Regions from separate parts of the Homo sapiens genome. Here region 2 is linked to region 1. The links are contacts of gene promoters, found by promoter capture Hi-C in human tissues and cell types (Jung and others, 2019). All regions are on one chromosome and are shown on one strand. The core of a region is centred on a gene start or on the middle of the fragment in contact, and the rest is flanking DNA. Distances in the headings are between cores, read along the strand shown.

The links. The method cuts DNA at HindIII sites, captures the fragments that hold promoters and counts their contacts. A contact is called where the count stands out against the background at its distance.
Region 2: a fragment that was not itself captured here is called in contact with the fragment with the promoter of SH3D19 in region 1 in 2 of the 25 tissues and cell types used here (bladder and mesenchymal stem cells).

What each region holds. Positions count from the first base shown.
Region 1 is chr4:151,324,280-151,328,845 of GRCh38, reverse strand. It overlaps SH3D19 (SH3 domain containing 19), which reads left to right and starts at 3,241. Exons shown (of 20, transcript NM_001378122.1): 1 at 3,241-3,605. The coding sequence starts at 3,494. The HindIII fragment of the contact is 31,894 bases long and covers 1-4,566 here.
Region 2 is chr4:151,179,501-151,184,673 of GRCh38, reverse strand. The region is part of intron 3 of SH3D19 (SH3 domain containing 19); the gene reads left to right. Among named protein-coding and RNA genes, the nearest start is that of SH3D19-AS1, 58 kb to the right of the region's middle. The HindIII fragment of the contact is 3,545 bases long and covers 1,231-4,775 here.

The DNA of each region.
Region 1 (4,566 bases), core at 1,992-4,491:
GATTACAGGCATGCGTCACCGTGCCTGGCTAATTTTTTGTATTTTTAGTAGAGATGGGGTTTCACCATGTTGGCCATGGTTGGCCAGGCAGGTCTGGAACTCCTGACCTCCTGAACTCCTGGCCAGGCAGGTCTGGAACTCCTGATCCACCCGCCACAGCCTCCCAAAGTGCTAGGATTACAGACGTGAGCCACTGTACCCGGCCTAATTGGGTTTTTAAACAACTATTGTTGTTTTTTATATGTTCTGAATATAAGGTCCTTATTAGATATATGATTTGAAAGTATGTTCTCCCCTTCTGTCTTTTCACTTTAATAATCGTGTCCTTTGAAACACGAAAGTTTTAAATTTTGCTAAGTCCAATTTATTTTTTCTTCTGATATTTATGTATTTTGGTATCACATCCAAAAAATTATTTTTTCAACCATGGTCACAGAGATCTAATCCTATGTTTTCTTCGAAGAGTTTTATAGTTCTAGTTCTTACATTTAGGTCTATGATCCATTTTGAGTTAATTTTTGCATATGGAATGAAATAGGGGCTCAAATTCATTCATGTGCATGTGGATATCCAGTTGTAAAGACAATTCCTTCCCTGTTGAATTATGTTGGCACCCTGTCCAAAGTTATATCTTTATTGAAGAACTTACCAAGTTTTGTCTCGTTTTGTGTAAACTGTATAGACCTTCCTCTCTCATTGGAGGACAGGGAACATGTTTTGTTCTTTTGCAATGAGAAGACATATGTGAAAAGCACCTACCATAGGATGTGATCATGGATATTTCTTTCCTTCTTTTGAGTCTCCCCACAGCACCTAGAGTGGTACTTGGCACACAACAGTTACCATAAATGTTTGCTAATTGTAGAGTGGGCTTGGGCATGCACCACCCACCCACCACAAAAATGTGGATTCCCGAAGCTCTAATTGGCTGGGAAACCCAGAACAACTTTCACGCCTTTCCAAATTAAGATTCAATGGCTGGGCTCAGTGGCTCACGCCTGTAATCCAGCGCTTTGGGAGGCTGAGGTGGGTGGATCACGAGGTCAGGAGTTTGAGACCAGCTTGGCCAACATGGTAAAACCCCGTCTCTACTAAAAATACAAAAATTAGCCGGGCGTGGTGGTGCATGCCTGTAATCCCAGCTACTCGGGAGGCTGAGGTAGGAGAATCCCTTGAACCCGGCAGGCGTAGGTTGCAGTGAGCCGATATCGTGCCACTGCACTCCAGCCTCGGCAATAGAGTGACTCTAGTCTCAAAAAAAAAAAAAAAAAAAAAAAATTAAGACTCAATGACAGTAGAAACTGACTCCAATGGCTTAATGAAATGGTACTGTTGGTCAAGGTAGGGATTTTTAAATTATTCATCCTTGAAGGGAAGTGACAAATAAGGTTTCACTTACCAAACATTTAAAACAACCCTAAAGGTCCAGAACCTTTGTTTTATTGTTGTTGGCTTAATTTCCAGTTCTCTAAGTGTCTACTTATTTAATCGCTTATGCAGTAATAAAGTTTTAACTTGTGGATTTGACCTCAATTCCACAGAATCGATTGTGGTTCTTATCTGCTTAAAAGCGGAAAGATTTTCTCAGGCGGCAACAGCCACTATTGAAAAGGCAAAGAAACAGCACTCAGGTGTGGCAGGCAATTCTATTTTCAGTGACCCTTTTCTCCCTTTCTTTTTCTCTCCTACTTGCTGAACATTAGGAGCTCTTGGTAATCTCTCAGAAATAGAGCAAGACGCCAAAGATAAAGGCCTGTTCATCGCACTCAGGAATTTCCTAAGGTTTCATGTCCAGGTAATATTTCTGCCTGCTACTTGGGTATCTTTTGGTGAAATTCCAGAATCTTTTCCTCTCTGTGTGAAAGTAAGTACGTGCACCTACTGAACCTAAGATGTGTATTGTGCAGGTACACACAACTTTGGTTACACGGTTCTTTCCAGCTTTGAAAAACTTTCTTAGGGGTAGCTCACACAGCTAAGTGCTTCAAATTACAGTTTCTGACTCCAGAGCCAGTGGTCTCTCCACTTCCCCTAGTTGCCTCTCTACAAATAATCACGTATGGGTCTCTTTAACACATTTCTTCCTGTTCTTCTAGGAATTGTAGCCATATCCTAGCCCTAAATGAACTGGAATACAGTGAGGCTTGATTTATTATTAAACATTTTTATTAGACTTTTTTTTTTTTTCGAGAAGGACTCTCGCTCTGTTGCCCAGGCTGGAGTGCAGTGGTGCGATCTCCGTTCACTGCAAGCTCTGCCTCCTGGGTTCAGGCCAGTCTCTTGCCTCAGCCTCCCGAGTAGCTGGGACTACAGGCGCCCGCCACCACGCCTGGCTATTTTTTTTTTTTTTTGTATTTTTAGTAAAGACGGGGTTTCACCGTGTTAGCCAGGATGGTCTCGATATCCTGACCTCGTGATCTGCCCGCCTCGACCTCCCAAAGGGCTGGGATTACAGGCATGAGCCACCGCTTCCAGTCTTACTAGACTATTTTTAAGAACAGTTTTAGGTTCACAGCAAAATTGAGCTAAAGGTACAGAGATTTCCCATGTACCCCCTGCTCCCACACATGCATAGCCTCCCCCATTATCAACATCCCCCACCAGAGTGCCACAGTTGCTACAATTGATGAACCCACATTGACACCTCATAATCACCCAAAGTCTATAGTTTACATTGCGGTTCACTCTTGGTTTTGTACATTCTTTGGGCTTGGACAAAGGCATCCGCTATTACAGAATCATACGCATAGTAGTTTCACTGCCCTAAAAATCCTCTGTGCTCCCGCAAGTCTAGGTTTTTAAGGGCGAAAAGAGAGGGAAAGAAAAAAGTGTGCATTGCAGAGGCTCGACCCAACTCCAAGCCAAGTTTGTTCCAAAGTTCAGCAGCTCCCAGCTGTCCCATCTCTCCCAGTTCGGCCCCGGTCGGGTTCCTCCTCTTTTTGTTTAAGTGTCAAACAAATGGGTTTCCTGTTGACACTGGAATATCGTGAAAAGGCAGGAAGAGGCCAGGCCACCTCCTCTTTCCCCTCTTCCTATCCCGTTTATTTATTTTGCACACGTTTGTTTGGGTCGAGCTGGTGTTTCCAGCGTGTGTGGCTGTGGGGCGGCCTTAGGGGCCGATAACCCCTCCCTGAGGAGGCGAGGCCAGCCCCGAACCCGCCCGATCCGCGGTGGAGCTCTACGGGGCGGGGAAGGCAAAGAGGAAGGGGGAAGAGAGCGGGAGTGGGAGTGGGAAAGGCCAGGGATTAAGAGGCCGCCGGGACGCCGCAAGGAGGCGGGGAATCGGCTCGGCCCGCGCCCTGCCGCTGCCCGGCCGGCTGCAGGTGGAGTTCGCGGAGGTGGCCATTTCCACAGCCGCCGCCGACGCCTCCTCTCCGGGAGCCGCCTTCCCCCCGGCCCGAGGGCGGTGGCGTGGGGCGCCGGGTGCAGGCGTTCTGGGGCGCCGGGGCCGCAGCTCGCTGGCCATCCCGCGGCTGCGCCCCGCGCCTCGCCCATGGCTGAGGGCCGGCGGCGGGAGGACGAGGAGGAAGAGCTACGCGAGCGCCGCGAACTTGGTGGCCAGCGCCGCGCCCGGGGCCGTGCGCTCTCGGGCCACTCGGCCGCAGGTGAGAGGCGCGGGGGACGGGGCGGCGGGGACCCAGAGCTGCGCGCTCTGGGGCCGCTCGGGTCCTGCCCCACACAGCGGCAGCTCCTTCACGCGCCGGGATGGGACCGGCTTCTTTAACTCTCAGAGGCCAGACTCGGGGAGGGTGGCATTTCCATCGCCATCCTCACTTTCCGGCCGAGCCCGAGGAAATTCAGACCCGTCTTTAACTGCTAGTGGTCGTACAGCTGAAACTCAAATTTTCCGTGCACACTAAATCCAGGAGCTGCTGGCTTGGGACTTGTGGCCTGGTTGATGACTTATCTCTGGATGAGTCAGAGGTCAATGGCCGTCTCGGTGGACAACGACACCTTCCGAGGGGTTTGCCTGCGCCGCCGCAGCCAGGTCAGAGCACGTGCTCATAACTGAGGCAAGTCCTGTTTCGGCGTCCCTTGCACTTCGGACCTGTGACCCCCCTCCCTCCCTCCCCCAGCCGCCGAGCTCACCAGTTTTCTGTAGGACTTGTTTTCGTTAGTTGTGAGACCCTCCCCCACGCAAAGAGAAGTCCAGAATATAGCATTCCAAAAGGCCATTCATTTGGGCTGAGAATCATTTTCGGGCCTGTAATTACTTTTATGATACTGTGTTTTGGGTACACAAAAGCGGCACGGATCAAATAGTTTGGCACATTAGTGAAAGAGTGAATAAGTGTAGATCCACACCCCTTCCCTCTTCCGGGCGGCTTTTCAATCAAACATAATAGAGAGGACATTCTTTGGCCTTTGGTTCCAACTGGGTAATCCGAGTTATCTGAAAACAAGAGGGAAGAACAAACCTAGGGGGACTGGCAACAAAAGGGAGATAGGGAAGTGAGAGAGTCGGAGGAGAACGATTCACTGAGAGCCTCATTATAAAGTGGAATATAGCGAATATTCCATGAAGTGGAGAAGCTTTTCTGTGTGACTCCCTTAACCACTAAGAGA
Region 2 (5,173 bases), core at 1,754-4,253, 140 kb after region 1:
GGCAGCAGGGAAGCAATCAGTGGAGGGATCAGACTGGAGCCATGAAAGAAGAGAAAACGGTGAAACAGGGCCCTAGCAGAGAGAGGAAGGAGGATATGAAACAAAGGGAAAAACCTTGCTTTGAGGTAGCTGGTGTTTTTTTGGTTTTTAACTCAGTTGTCTTTTAATTCTTCTGTCAGTCGCTTTGTAAACACTAAAGAAATACTTGTATTCCTGATGTTTAGGCAAGAAGGCCAAACAGATCCTTTCATGATAACATATAAATACAGAATGAGTAACAATTGTGCCATTCCCTTTTGTTTTCTTCTTTTTGCCTATTCTATAAGAAAAAGCTGTAAATAATTTTTATCTTAGCCAGCCCATTAAAATGTGTGTGTTACTATCCCATACTCAGTCATCTAACCCTGGCAAGCGGAAAGACTTTATCCCATTGTTAAAGTGATATTCTTTAACTGGTTGTAGTTCAACTTATTTCATAATGATTCCGGTTCCAGTCAAGCCTTGGGGTCCTTTTCTTTGCATGTATTCTTGTGAATCCTGAGTATTTTTGGTAAAGTGTTTTGATGTATCCTAATTGGATACATCTAGAATTTTATGTTCTTCCTTTCATTAACTTTTTAAGAGAAAATTATTTTCTGAAATTCAGACTTAGTTAATATTGTTTACCTACCATGAGTCAGGAACTGTTTCCATACATTATAAAATAACACTGTGCGTGGTAGGTGTTGACCCATTTTACATGTGGTAGTGAAACTGAGTCCCAGAAAGGTTAAGTGGCTTCACAAGGTAGAGCCAAGATATGAACCTTGTTTCCTGACTTCAAGGCCATTGAGCTTTCCACTCCACAGACGTTCTTGTTATCATGTCAAATGCATCTAACTCTTATACCCTGTCCCAAACAAATGTAGTCAGTAAGTTTCTTATATTATTGTGATTTTCATTGATCTTTCATTCTTAGTTCATTGATCATTCATTCATAGTTCTATAGCAAGGGTATTTATAATTAATAATCCTTCTATGTGTTTATTTCTTCTGACATCATTTTATTGATAATTTTGAATTATTTAGATCAAGACTAGCTAGCATCCCACTCTCCTGGCTCCACACAGAGTTAAACTGCTTCAAGAAACAAACTGCTCCTAGCCTTGCTCCTAAAGGGCTGTTGGACCTGGGGTAATTCATTTAACCCCTCTGTATCTCAGTCTTCTCCTCTGTGAAGTTTGAGTAGGACGATCGCTGAGGGTCTTTCCAGGCTTGTGATCCTGCTGGAATTCGAGAAGATTCTTTATTGGTGGTAATACTGCACATCTACATCTCAACTTTAACATGAATATGTTTTGTATTTAGAATTTAACCACTTGAACTCGAAAAGTTTGAAAATAGGCCAGGCACTGTGGCTCACACCTATAATCCCAGCACTTTGGGAGGCTGAGGCGGGCGGATCACCTGAGGTCAGGAATTCGACACCAGCCTGACCAACATGGTGAAACCCCATCTCTACTAAAAATACAAAAATTAACCCGGCGCAGTGGTGGGCACCTGTAATCCCAGCTACTAGGAAGGATGAGGCAGGAGAATCGCTTGAACCTGGAAGGCAGAGGTTCCAGTGAGCCAAGGTCGTGCCACTGCACTCCAGCCTGGGCGACAGAGAGAGACCCCAGCTCAAAAAGAAAAAAAAAAAGAAAAAGTTTGAAAATAATTCTGTAAAATGATAGGATAACTCTAACTGAAAATACTGCCTTTATTCTGTGGCATTAACCCAAAACGTACCAGACTAGCAGCTTGTGGCAGAGAGGTAAAATGGGACATGCTTGTCTATATGGCAATCTGGCAAATTCGATTTTCCTGGCAACTACAGCAAATTTGTTTAATCTGGGAAAGTGAGAATGAAATGTATAAGCAGATAGTTGAGAAATTAGCACAAAGAGCATGAGACAACACATGAAAATCTGCAGTGAAAACCAAAAGTGTTTGTAGCTATTAATCTTGTTCAGCACTGACAGAAGGTGTCAGTTTTTCCAGAAGGATCAAGAGAGAAAAGAAAGATTTCATAGATAAGTGAATGTGAAAAAAGCCAGACAAGGAGAGGGGAAAGCAGTGATTCTTGAAGGTTGTGCAGAAGGACATCTGTACGTACGACTGCAAGACCCCTCCATGTTCTTCAGCGGCAGTGCCACTCTGCTGCCTGGGGGCCTGCTGTGAATGACCTCTGGTGTGAACGGGCAGAATCAAGTTAAAATTGCTGATTTTAAACAATGTAGATCGACTACTGAATTACCTTTTAAGTACTATTCATACTTTAAAATCAATGCTTATTGAAGTAGCAAATTGATTTTGCAAAATAGTTTTTAGATTTTTTAAAACCGTTGTTAAAAACTGCAGACAGGCCAGGCATAGTGGCTCATGCCTGTAATCCTAGCACTTTAGGAGGCCAAGGTGGGCGGATCACTTGAGGTCAGGAAGTCGAGACCAGTCTGGGCAGCATAGCAAAACCCCGTTTCTACAAAAGATACGAAAAGGAGCCAGGTGTGGTCGTGCATGCCTGTAGTCCCAGCTACTCAGGGGGCTGAGGCAGGAAGATCGCTTGAGCCAGGGAAGTCGAGGCTGCAGTGAGCCAATATTGTGCCACCGCACTCCAGCCTGGGTGACAGAGCAAGACCTTGTCTCAAAAAAATAAAAAAAAAAAAACCCTACAAGCGGGTTTTTCAACTGGTTATGTGTGTGGATATCCTGGTCTGCACAGACAAATCTTTGCGGCAGTATTTCTTTACTCTCTGAATCTGTGGATCATCAACTTTGCTTTTCCATTTAAGTGTGCATAGCAGGGAAAAACAGTGGTATGGCAAGACAGTCATGCTCCTGAATTCCTTTTAAAGCTTAGGCAACTAGGTTCACTCTTTTCTCTTCCTTTCCTCTTCTATAACCCCTTCTTTTTTTCCCTTAGCACTCATGAATAGTACACAGCAAAAATGCCCCGTGGAAGAGGTATGTTTGTGATGATAACATGAAGTCTTTTAAAAGTGTTATCCCTGCTGATTTCAGCATTAGTGATGGTGGTGATGTGATTGTAGCAAACTTGAATGGGCCTCTGACTTAATGAAACCATTCTTACAAATCAGACACACCATGCAGAGCTCTAGCCTCCCTGTCAGCTTGGTTTAGCTCTTGATAAAAATGTTAATAGTCAGTCAAACCAGTTGATGATATGAATATGAGGACATCCTCCAAGTAGAAACCCAGGGGTTTGGTTTCAGATCTTAGAGGTTTGCTTTGCCAACCCAGCAGAGGTTCACCTGTTACGGCTCCAATCCAGCCTAAACTTCATTCCCACCTTCCACTTCCACCCCTGCCTCCCCTAGTTTTGACAGCCTCCTTGTTCAGAGAGAAGCAGAAGTTAATAGGGGGGAAAGATCTATGCTTCCAATCTTTTCAAATAGGAAGAATTGAACAAGTTGAGTATTACTGAGATATGAAAGCAACTGGTTAAAATAGTTTATATCTGAAACAAATTTCCTTTGTGCACAGATCTTTACACTATAGTATTAGAAGATTTTTTTCCCCAAAGAGATCTTTAGAATATGTTCCATGAAAAATAGAGGTAGGCCGGGCGTGGTGGCTCATGCCTGTAATCCCAGCACTTTGGGAGGCCGAGGTGGGAGGATCACGAGGTCAGGAGATCAAGACCATCCTGGCTAACACGGTGAAACCCCATCTCTACTAAAAATACAAAAAAAAAAAAAAAAATAGCCGGGCATGGTGGCAGGCACCTGTACTCCCAGCTACTCGGGAGGCTGAGGCAGGAGAATGGCATGAACCCGGGAGGCGGAGCTTGCAGTGAGCCGAGATGGCGCCACTGCACTCCAGCCTGGGCGACAGAGCGAGACCCCATCTCAGAAAAAAAAAAGAAATAAAGAAAAATAGAGGTAATAGTCTCTATTACATAAAAATTGAAAAATTGACCCCATATGTGTCGGGCGCAGTGGCTCACACCTGTAAAGCCAGCACTTTGGGAGGCCAAGGCGGGTGGATCACAAGGTCGGGAGATCGAGACCATCCTGGCTAACACGGTGAAACCCCGTATCTACTAAAAATATAAAAAATTAGCCAGGCATGGTCGCGGGCGCCTGTAGTCCCAGCTACTCTGGAAGATGAGGCAAGAGAATGGTGTGAACCCAGGAGGCAGAGCTTGCAGTGAGCCAAGATCGCGCCACTGCACTCCAGCCTGGGCGACAGAGCGAGACTGTCTCAAAAAAAAAAAAAAAGAAAAAAAAATGACCCCATATGTGATATGTTCTAGATTATCCGATTAAAACTTAGTTTACTTTATAAAATAAAATTTGGGAAAAAATTTAAACTATCAAGCTTAAGGACTTGAGTTTGAGACTTAAGGAAAAAGTCAGTGCTGCATATACAATAATATGTGCTATAAACAAGTTTATAAAAGTGATTTGAACACCTTTTACATTAATTATTATATCTTAGTTTAAGTAATAAAAGGCTGGGCATAGTGGCTCATGCCTGTAATCCCAGCACTTTGGGAAGCCCAGGCAGGAGGATCGCTTGAACCCAGGAGCTTGAGACCAGCAACATGGCGAAACCTCATCTCTGCGAAACATACAAAAAATTACCAAGGCATGGTGTCATGTGCCTGTAGTCCCAGCTACTTGGGAGGCTGAGGCAGGAGGATCACTTGAGCCTGGGAACTTGAGGCTGCATTGAGCCCTGAACATCATGTCACTGCTCTCCAGCCTGAGCAACAGGGTGAGACCCTGTCTCAAAATAAATAATAAAACAACTTAAAGGTTATAAAATGTCAGATAAGTTAGACAAAAGATGAAAATTTGACCAGTTTCATTCTACAATAGATTTATAAACAAACATCACAAAAGCATAGTCATATAGATTGGAATCGATATTTAAAATTTTTTCTGCCCATTGTTACTTCATGTCATCATCTTAATACTCCAGCCATGCAATTTATATTTAATAGCTGTCTTCTTTTCTCTGTTCATTCTTCAAACTATTTTCACAACTACAGAATGTTCTTTGGGGAGTTTTTGAAATCTATGTATTATGCAATCTCTAATATATAACCATAATTAACTTTATGCTAATAAAATGATTGTTTTGATTTACTTTTTTTTAAGGATATTAAAATTCATACATTCTATAT